Regions from separate parts of the Homo sapiens genome. Here region 1 is linked to region 2. Evidence: promoter capture Hi-C in human tissues and cell types (Jung and others, 2019). All regions are on one chromosome and are shown on one strand. Each heading gives the region's core, a stretch centred on a gene start or on the middle of the fragment in contact. The rest is flanking DNA. Distances are from core to core; before and after follow the strand shown.

What was found. The method cuts DNA at HindIII sites, captures the fragments that hold promoters and counts their contacts. A contact is called where the count stands out against the background at its distance.
Region 1: a contact is called between a fragment that was not itself captured here and the fragment with the promoter of AGXT in region 2, in 1 of the 25 tissues and cell types used here (lymphoblastoid cells).

The regions. Positions count from the first base shown.
Region 1 is chr2:241,884,693-241,890,086 of GRCh38, forward strand. All of the region lies in intron 2 of LINC01237 (long intergenic non-protein coding RNA 1237), which reads left to right. Among named protein-coding and RNA genes, the nearest start is that of LINC01237, 6.0 kb to the left of the region's middle. The HindIII fragment of the contact is 9,878 bases long and covers 1-5,394 here.
Region 2 is chr2:240,865,467-240,870,429 of GRCh38, forward strand. It overlaps AGXT (alanine--glyoxylate aminotransferase), which reads left to right and starts at 3,358. Exons shown (of 11, transcript NM_000030.3): 1 at 3,358-3,564; 2 at 3,704-3,896. The coding sequence starts at 3,400. RefSeq lists an enhancer at 2,877-3,377. The HindIII fragment of the contact is 24,692 bases long and covers 1-4,963 here.

The DNA of each region.
Region 1 (5,394 bases), core at 123-2,622, 1.0 Mb after region 2:
ACACAAAATGTGGGAAACTTGTAACGGTGTAATTCCTCTAACCCTGTTCTTCCTGTTACAGTTGCCATATGTTTAACCTCTACCTACATTACAAACTCCGTAACACAATGCTACTTTTGCTTTAGACAATCTTTTGAATAAATTAAAGTTAACTTTTTAAGAAATTAACTGTCAGTTGGGTGTGGTGGCTCATGTTTGTGATGCCCAAATTTTAGGAGGCAGAGGCAGGAGGATTGCTTGAACTTAGGAGTTCGAGACTGCTTTCGGAAACACAGTGATACCTCGTCTATTAAAAAGAAAGCAAACTAGCCGAGCATGGTGGTGTGCACCTGTAGTTTCAGCTGCTCGGGAGGCTGAGGCAGGGGGATCCCTGGAGCCCAGGAGGTTGAGGCCGCTGTGAGCCATGGTCACTTTCCTCCCCATCTCCCCTGTCCGGCATCCACACAGCTCCTTCTCTGTTGTCCCAGGCCAACCCCAGCCCTGGTGCTATGCCCTCCTCTCACTGCGCCCTTGTTTCCCCGAGCTCTGCCTCCTATGGTGGCAGAGTGGGAGGGGGAGGGTGGGAAGCATGGCTCACAGTTGGCTCCATCACAGTGGCCCTGTATTTGTCCAGTTTCACAGCCATTTGCTGGAGGAACGCAGGTCCAGCACTGGCTACCCTGTCACGGCAGGGGTGACCTCTTACCAGCCTAGCAGCCCAGAGGCGCCCCAGGTGGGGAGGTGGCAGGTGGACACCGGGTCCCGTGTGTTGTGGCAGTGAAGCCTGCAGCCCACCAGAGCTCCAACAGCAGAGAAACAGGCTGTGAGTGTAAGCGTGGAATTGCTGTGAGCCATGGCGCCAGCAGCATGTGCTGCAGAGACAGCTAATCAATTAGCCCCTCCGTGCTGGGTGCTGTGTGTGCACCATTAAAGAGCTCACGGGGAGAGAAATGCAGACTCCTCTGGGGGCCCCAGGGTGGATTGCACCACTCAGCATGTTCTATTGAGTGCCTTTCCCTGCAGTGCGTGCTTTCTGAGGCTGTAATTTTGAGTGTGTCTTTCAAGGCTGCAGCCCTTAAGCAGTACAGCCTGGGTGTTCAGCTGGATAATCCTGTAAGTGAAGTTTGAGTGGTTTAACTGCCTACAGCAGGTGGGAGCTCGGGTGGTGGGGAGCATCTGGGGTTTCGAGGAGTCTGAGCCTCTGTGCAGGGCTGCAGGCTGTGGACGGGTTACGCGGGTGCTGGTCTTTAACGAGAGGACCTTCAGAGAGATGCAACAAAACCCCATGTGAGGCAGAAATGAAGCCTCCGAGTTGTATTGGAAGAGCTGCTGTCCGTGCAGCCACCACCCCCCTAAATACTCTGTGAGGGTCCTGGCTCCAGTCCATCTGTCTATCATCTTGGGAGCAGCCCATGCCAGCCACGTTGTCCTCCAGGCTTCTCTGCACAGACCTGGCTGCTGCGGGGTGCAGGGCATGTTGTTTGCACGTGTGCACTCCACCTCTCTTTCACATGCGCGTTCTCTGTAACACTCAGGACAACCCCGTGAACTAGAAGTCAGGTCCCTTGTTGAACTGGAGTTGGCCTGAGAAAGATCTTGGAGGATTAAGGCAGAGCTTTGCTCTGGGTCTGCCTCCAGGAAGGTGCCTGAGTCTCCACAGGGGCTGTGCCACAGAAGCCCCCCACAGCTTTTGGAACCCCAGAGCCCTTCACTGCACATTCGCCCTGTAGCCTCAGTCTCCAGGGACCTGGGAAAGCCCCAGCGTCAGCTTTTATGTTCTTCTGCATCACCGTGTCCTCTGCCTCGCTATGAATGAGTTTGTCAGGCCTCCTCCTTGGGGAGTGCGGTGGGGGCAGGTGGCAGACCTCGGGGCCAACAGAGAGTCATTAAGTAATCTCATAGTGAACGTGGCCTGGAGTCTTGTTTTTCAGATGGAAAAGGGAAAATTGGGCAAAGTTTGTAGGAGAAAAATACCAAGTTTTGTGGTGGTTGTGTTGATGGAGGGGGTTGAGCTGAATCTGAGAAGCAAGTACATTTGAGGCTTGGCTGCCACACTCACGGACACTGCAGAGAATGAGGAAAAATGGCTGGTTGTGTTTTCTTTCCACTGCACAAAAGAATAATTGCTTTTGTTTACAGATTTTCTGAAATGTCCTTCCAATTCCTTTGCCCCTGAATTATGAGCTGTGCCAGCTTGCGTGCAACAAATGGGTCTTATTGAGCACAAATACATGGGTGCAGAGCGTCTTTCGAAGAGGAGGCATCAGGGAGCCTCCTCCGGTCTCCACAGCCCCTGACAGGAGGCTGCTTCTCGGGATCCAGACCTGCCTGGGCTGCTTCAGTGGCCTCCCTGCCCTTCCCGGTGCGGCAGATCTGTGCCCACAGCAACGCATCCCCCGCACCTGCACCACCGCTCTTCCTGAGGCCCAGTGTTGATCTCTTTGTGGCCCCAGTGAGGACATTTTTGAGGCTTCATGATCTCTGTAGGATGCTGTCCAGGCCCATGCACACAGCAGGTGCATCCGTGAGGCACACCTCATATCTTAGCACTGCTGTGCTGTGATGCAAGTCCTCAGGGAGCTCGGCTCCACACTGTCACTCAGGGATCCAGCAGCCCCTTCCACCTGTGGCGCTGCCGTCCTCTGGTTTGGCGTCCTCTCCGTTCAGTACACGGCCGGGGAGGAAAGTGAGGAGGCTGTTGCGAGGGTCTTATGAGCCAGGGCCAGGAGTGGACTGCATCACCCCTGCCCAAGTTTCTTGGCTAGAACTAGCTGTTTGGCCAAGGCAAACCCCTGAAGTGAAGGATGCAGGCAGGGCCCACCTCTCTCTCTCTCTCTCTCTCTGCCATTTGCCCCTCACCCCCACCCACCAGACCACCCGCGCCCCCCAAGGAGGCTGCCTCAATGCCCTTCAGTAACCCACTTCTGTTGTGCAAATTCCTCTCCAACATTTCCTCTTCAGAGCGACTGCCCGAGAAAACTGGATAATCGCGCCTTTCCCTGTGTTTCTGTGGTTCTTTTATAATCCTGGTTTTAAAATCTAAAATAGTGCATGCTGGTATTTGCTTTTTAGGGTTGTAGAAGAAGGTTAACAAGGTACCACAAACCGGATGGCTCAAAACAGCGGATACTGTCTCACGGTTCTGGAGACCTGAAGTCTGAAACAAAGTGGTGATGGGGTCGGTTCCCTCCGGAGGCTCTGAGGGGGATGCAGTGGCTCTGAGGGGGCTGTGGGGGCTCTGAGGGGAGACTGGGGGTGGCTCTGAGGGGGATGCGTTTCCTGCCTCTCTCCGCCATGCTGGGGCTCGCTGCATCTTCGTGCTCCTCTGCTTGTGGATGCGTCACTCTGGCTCCGTTCTTCTTCACGCGGCATCCGTCTCCCTGTGTTCTCTGCTTTATAACGGCACCTGTCATTGGATGCAGGGACCGCTCTAATCCACCATGATTCTATCTGGAGAACCTAAACTTAATTACATCAGTAAAGACCCTTTCTCCATGAGGTCCCACTCGCAGGTTCTCGGGGGACATGTCTTTTGGGGCCACCATTCCCCCAGCTCCGATGCTCCTTTAAGCTCATTAAGCTTCATAGAGGGGATTCAGGTGGGGGTGCCCTCGGTCTCACTCAGTGGGTGTCAGGGGGCGTATCGCCTGCAGGCCGGCCCTTCTGCCCTCTCAGAGGCAGCCACAGCTCAGGTCAGGCTGGAGGGTGGGGTGGACTTCCTCCCTCCCTCCCCCTCACTGCCCCCCCCGCCGCCTGCTTCCTCCCATCCTCCCTCTCACTGGCACCCCCACCTGCTTCCTCCCATTCTCCCTCTTGCTGCCCCCCCACCTGCTTCCTCCCGTCCTCCCTCTCACTGGCACCCCCCACCTGCTTCCTCCCATTCTCCCTCTTGCTGCCCCCCCACCTGCTTCCTCCCATCCTCCCTCTCACTGGCACCCCCACCTGCTTCCTCCCATTCTCCCTCTTGCTGCCCCCCCACCTGCTTCCTCCCGTCCTCCCTCTCACTGGCACCCCCCACCTGCTTCCTCCCATTCTCCCTCTTGCTGCCCCCCCACCTGCTTCCTCCCGTCCTCCCTCTCACTGGCTCCCCCTCCCCTGCCAACCTGCTTCCTCCCTCCCTTCCCTTCACTACCCCTCACTCCCTGCCTCTTTCCTCCCATCCTCCCTCTCACTGGCCCCACCACGTGTAACTGTCTGTCAGGCTGGGAGGCAAGAAGCAGCAGGTGCCTTCCGTTTGGCCTTGTACATTTGTTGTCATGAGCTGGGTCTGCTCCCCTGGGCTCAGACCCTTGATTTTCAGGGCTCTTGGTGAGTGGGGGGTGGGCACCTGGGACAGCTGCCCGGGGATGGCTGCATGGGACCTCTCGGGGGGCATCAGCTGCTGTCTAGCTGGGGCTCCGTTACTTCTATTCTTCAGGTTTGGTGCCTTTTTATGCCATTGCATATGGAATTGTTTAACAATTTCATTTTTAAATTGTTCATAGAAATATAGGAAGATAATTGAATTTTGTACTTGATCAGATATCCTGCAACCTGACTAGATTCACTGAATCATTTTCAGTAGTTTGTTTTGTAGATTACATAGGGTTTTCTCAACACATAATCATGCTTGCAAATAATGGCTTTCTTCCTCTCTTTTTCCTCTCCCTCCCCCATCTTTCTTTCTGATTTTTATGCCCTCTGTTTCCTTTTCTTGCCTTATTGCATTGGCTGGGACCCCCAGTACAGTATGGAACAGAAGTGTCAAAAGTGGCCCTAAGTATGGGTCACTTTTAGTTTAGTTTTAGTTGTTAGTTTTCTATAAATGTATTTAATCAGGTTGTGGAAGGTCCCCATTATTTCTGGTTTGCTAAGAATTTTGTCATAAGTACCTACTGAATCTTTTTTTCCTGCTACTGTAGTCTTGGGGTTTTCTTTGTGGGAAGGTTTTTATGTACAACTTTAATTTCTTTAATAGGGATAGGGTTATTTGCAGCTTCCCCCTTATTTCCAGTATTTCAAGAACAGGCAATTTTAATGTTACATTGTGACAATCAAGACAAACCCTGGTTTCTAATAGAGATATGGCAGATTTCTGGTTGGGGACAGCCAACGTGCACAAGGGTCCCAGAACGTTTCATTGTGCCTGAAAGTGAGGGGGCTCTCCAGGACGAATGGGGCCTGTCGAGAAGACAAGGAGCCAGTTTGAAAGAGGTGGCATTGGTGAAATCTGGGACAACCTGAGCATCCAAAAGAATGAGGCCCATAGTTAACTAGGATACATCTAATCCATTTACATCCATGAATCCACAATGACACTCTAAGAAAAGAGAAAGCCTGAAAAACTCAGGCAGATCTTAAACCAACTCTTTATTTTGAATATTGGCAGCCAGAGGGAAAAATCAAACATTATCTTGTTTTGTGCTAGAAAGAGGA
Region 2 (4,963 bases), core at 2,108-4,607:
TTGCCGTCCACAACCTGCTACTCCAAGCCATGTAGATTCTTCTTCGTAAGCACACCCTGTCTCCAATCAAACTGTACTGTTGGGATTTCATTATTCTTCTCACCACTCCTTCCCACCCCGACCATTTCCTTCTGTGCTGGTAAATTGGAAACCACCTCCCTCTTCGTGCTATCATATTACTTCCCCCACCATCCACACTTACAATATCACTGAAACTTCCTTAACTTGTAATGTTATTTTGGGAGGTACACCTTGTTATAATGACACTCATGCAGCTAACTTTGACTCATTTGAGGCCTTCGCCTCCTACAATCAAAACTCTGACTCTGGCCAGGTGCGCTGGCTCACACCTGTAATCCTAACACTTTGGGAGGTAGAGGTGGGTGGATCACCTGAGGTCAGGAGTTCGAGACCAGTCTGACCAACATGGTGAAACCCTGTCTCTACTAAAAATACAAAAATTAGCAGGGCGTGGTGGCAGGTGCCTGTAATCCCAGCTACTCAGGAGGCTGAGGCAGGAGAATCGCTTGAACCCAGGAGCAGAGGTTGCAGTGAGCCAAGGTCACACCACTTCACTCCAGCCTGGGCAACTGAGTGAGACTCCATCTCAAAAAAAAAAAAAAAAAAAATCTGACTCTATCTCATCACTGCCAATTTATAAGCCGTTAAACTGGACCAGTATAGTGGGGCTCCCAGTATACAGCACCCCTGCACTCCTAATACCTTCATGTATGTTACTATAATGATGCAACCAGTGCAGGAAATAACCACCGTGCCACCTGGTTTACATCCTATGCCATGCACTGGCACCCGCCTGCTTTTAAACCTCCTCCATCAGTACATAAACATAGTCTTTCCCCCATATGAGTCCTCTTAAAACTGTCAAAAGGCCCATTTCCTTTTTTCCCAACATTTTAATTAAAATAATCATCCTGCCCCTCCTGGGCTCTTATGGCTTAGCAGCCCCACTAAAAACTATTTAAACCCTTTTCAAGCTTTGGCCCTATCCCACCTTGATCATTCTCTTCACTATGGTGATTGTAGCCTGGGAACAATAGCTCCCACCCAAATCACTGTCTTAAACATCACTTCTAATTCAGAATTCCCTTCTAGAAGGAAAAGGGCCCTGGGACTTACTGTGGCCGGAGTTGTGGGAACTATCACAACTCTTACCCCTTGGGGAGGTTTTACTTACCAGGAAATCACAAGTAAGAGAACCTACCGCCTCCCTTGAAATAGCAAAAGCTGGCACCCATCTATCAGCTCTACAAGTCATTAGACTCACAAGCAGGATTTTGGTGTCTGGTAACAGGTGAGTTCTGGATTACCTCCTAGCTGAACAAGGAGGGGTCTGTGCTGTCATCAACAGGACCCGTTGCACCTACATTTATGTGTCTGGAGAAGTGGAAACCGATGCCCAAGAAATCATCAAACAAGCCAAATGGCTACACACACTTTCCCAAAGCAACCAAGACTGGGCCAAAACTTTTACTGATTGGTTTTCAAAAAATCACTTGGCTTCCCCCATTCCTTAGACCTTTATCTTCTGTCATTTTTCTTTTAATATTTGGTCCCTGCCTTTTTAATGCTCTGATTGCTTTTCTATGTTCTACATGAGAACAATTCCACCTGCAGAAGGCTATGCATTCCCAACACTGGCCTGCAACTGCAGCTCGATTTACATGGGGCTTCTTGATGGAAATACCGGCCTGCAACTGCAGCTCCCATTTACGTGGGGCTTCTTGATGGAATCCCATCACGTGCCTCCGTGCACAAGTTTTCATGACCCTTTATTCCCTTCATGACCGAGAGCAAGAAAGGGAAAAACGTGACCTACCCCCCTGAACTCCCTTTCAGCAGCAAGTAGTCAGGCGCACTGGACACCCCTCTTCACTGTGCCGTTTCCCCTTTCTTGAGACCCCAACAGGAAGCAGGTGGACATGAGCATGGCAGAAAAGGAAGGGTCAAAGATTTCACCAAGATATTTGTCAGAGGGAAAATGAGGACAGCAAAGATCACCTGGAGACCATCAAGCAGGCCCCAGGTGGGGTGGGTGGAGGGGAGCCTCTTTATTTGAGAAATGTAGAATGAATTAGACTTCCCTATTATCTAAAGTTGGCACCTGGTTCCAGGCCTCTTTTCAACCTAAAACTTATACATAACTAGAATTTCTATACATCTCTGGAATGCAGCATGCTGAAACTCACTGTGCAACCCCTGCCTTGTGTGTGTCTGTATACCATGCAGGTTTGCTTGCTAAATTGAGCCTGTAAACCAAAAAGTACCTCAAACAGGTCTCAATTAATTTAGAAAGTTTTTGTTGCCAAGGCTAAGGATGCACCCGTGGTACAGCCTCAGGAGGGAGGACATCCTTGCCAAGCTCAAGGGTGCACCCCTGACCACAAGGGCCCAAGGTGGTCGGGGCACAGCTTGCTTTTATACATTTTAGGGAGATATGAGGCATCAATCAATACATGGGAGATTTACATTGGTTCCATCTGGAAGGGCGGGACAACTTGAATTGGGGGGCTTCCAGGTCATAGGTAGATTTAAACATATTTTGATTGGCAACTGACTGAAGAATTATTATCAGCAGAAAGGAGTGTCTGGGTTATGAAATAGGGGTTGCAGGGAGCAGATGATGCCTTCAGGTAGCGGGATTTAGAGAGAAAATAGATGGTAAATGCTTCCTATCAGACTTAAGGTCTATGTCGATGTTAATGCTGGGGGTTATGATGTGGCATGGCCTGAACGTCTTCCGGGTTAAAGTTTAGAGCACCCTGGCGGACAGGGAACCCCATTCAGATGGTTGCTGGGGGGCCTTCGAATTTTATTTTTGGTTTACAAGCCTTCCCATCAGCTGCGCCAGGGTCAGCAAACCACAGTCCATGGGCCCAATCTGGCCTGCCACCTGCTTTTTGTAAATAAAGTTTTATAGGAACACGCCCACACCTCTGGCAGCTGCTTTGCAAGCACGCAGCAGGGTTGAGTTGTTGCAACATAGACCACAGGGCCTGCCAAGCCTCAATTATCTGTGCTCCGACCCTTTAAGAAACACTTCTCTCACCCCTGAGCTAAGCAGAATAAGAGGGGCTGGACGTGCAGGACTCAGAGTGGGAGCGAGGAGGGCTGGGGTGAGGACAGCTTTGTCACACTCTGTTTTTCTGTCACTCAGCCCTGGGGGCTCCCTCTGCCTGAGGGCTTCGTCCCCTGCTGCCTGGCCGTGACCCGCAGCACAAGCACAGATAAGCCTCAGGGAACAAAAGGCAGGGCTGCCACGGAAGCCCATCCACCAATCCTCACCTCTCACCTCTGTGTCCGCCCTGCTGGGAAATATTCCAGGCTTTGGCCAAGGCCAGTGCAGCCCCAGGTTCCCGAGCGGCAGGTTGGGTGCGGACCATGGCCTCTCACAAGCTGCTGGTGACCCCCCCCAAGGCCCTGCTCAAGCCCCTCTCCATCCCCAACCAGCTCCTGCTGGGGCCTGGTCCTTCCAACCTGCCTCCTCGCATCATGGCAGCCGGGGGGCTGCAGATGATCGGGTCCATGAGCAAGGATATGTACCAGGTAGGAGTGGGGGTCACTCGGGGGGCCTGGGTCTCACCCATGTTCCCACCCACAGATCGTGGACGAGGGAAGGGGGTCACTGCCTCCTCACTTGGGGAGGCGGGGAGCCTGGGTCTCACCCTATACCACCCGCATGCAGATCATGGACGAGATCAAGGAAGGCATCCAGTACGTGTTCCAGACCAGGAACCCACTCACACTGGTCATCTCTGGCTCGGGACACTGTGCCCTGGAGGCCGCCCTGGTCAATGTGCTGGAGCCTGGGGACTCCTTCCTGGTTGGGGCCAATGGCATTTGGGGGCAGCGAGCCGTGGACATCGGGGAGCGCATAGGTAAGGGAGAGGCCCAGGTGGGGATGGCCCTGGATCCATCCTTCAAGGCCTCCCTGGCCTCCCTCTGTTTGAAGCTGGCAGCCCCCGTTCCTGGGTGAGCGCTTACCCACCTTGTGGCCCTGTGCGCACGAACCTCCTGCCAGCCCACTGCCTCCTCCAGGCGGTGTCGGGCACTCATGAGGCCTGACTCTGATAGGGCTGGGAGCAGCACAGGTGCCCCGATCCCCCCAGTCTCCTTGAGCTGTTTCTGGAGCATGTGCAGGACGGAACTACAGGGAAGCCTCTGGTCCCAGCACACACTCCTGAGAGCCCCGGCCGCTGTCCAGGGCCCCAGGCACCAGCTCTGCTTTGTGACAGGGTGGGGTTTCAGAAGCTGAAGCCTCCCCTCAAATCTCAGCAGCCTTCCTTCTGGAATCTTGATGTGATACACAAAATATGGAGGTATGGGCAGAGTATTCGCCTCCGGAGTACACTTTTCTGGGAGAGACACAGGAGCAGGAGTGTGCCCTGGGTTTAATGATTGATTGTGGCATTGAGGGACATCAGCTTGGTGAGCTCCACAATGGCCATGCTGGTTAATACGCGACCGCAACAGCCAAGAGGGTCCCAACCCCAAGTCCACAAACTTTTCAAGGGGACCCAGGGTCGGCAGAGGCCAGGACCCCAAGTGGACATCAGGGCACGCAGGCTCAGATGCCTGTGGTATATGGCTTCCCTTTTCCCCATTCTGTCCCCTTGGCCGCAGGTTCTTCCCCTCCCACAACCTGGCCCTGAACAGCACACAGGATAGGGCAGAGACAGGGAGGGGGTGAGGGCCTGATTCCTGGAGTCCCCAGCTCCAACAGAGGTCAAGGCTGCTGCCTCACTCACCCCTCATCCTTCAGTCTGTCATCCATCACACCTGTGGTGTGCCAGCCCTGGACCAGGTACACTCTTTGTGCCAGCCCTGGGCCAGGTGCAGCCCTGACTCCCGGGAGCTCACTCTCTGCTTGGGGAGGCACTGGTCAGTGTGGCCTGAGAAAGGGCATTTGAGCTGAGCTCTGTCAAGAGTGCCCCAGGAGCGTTGG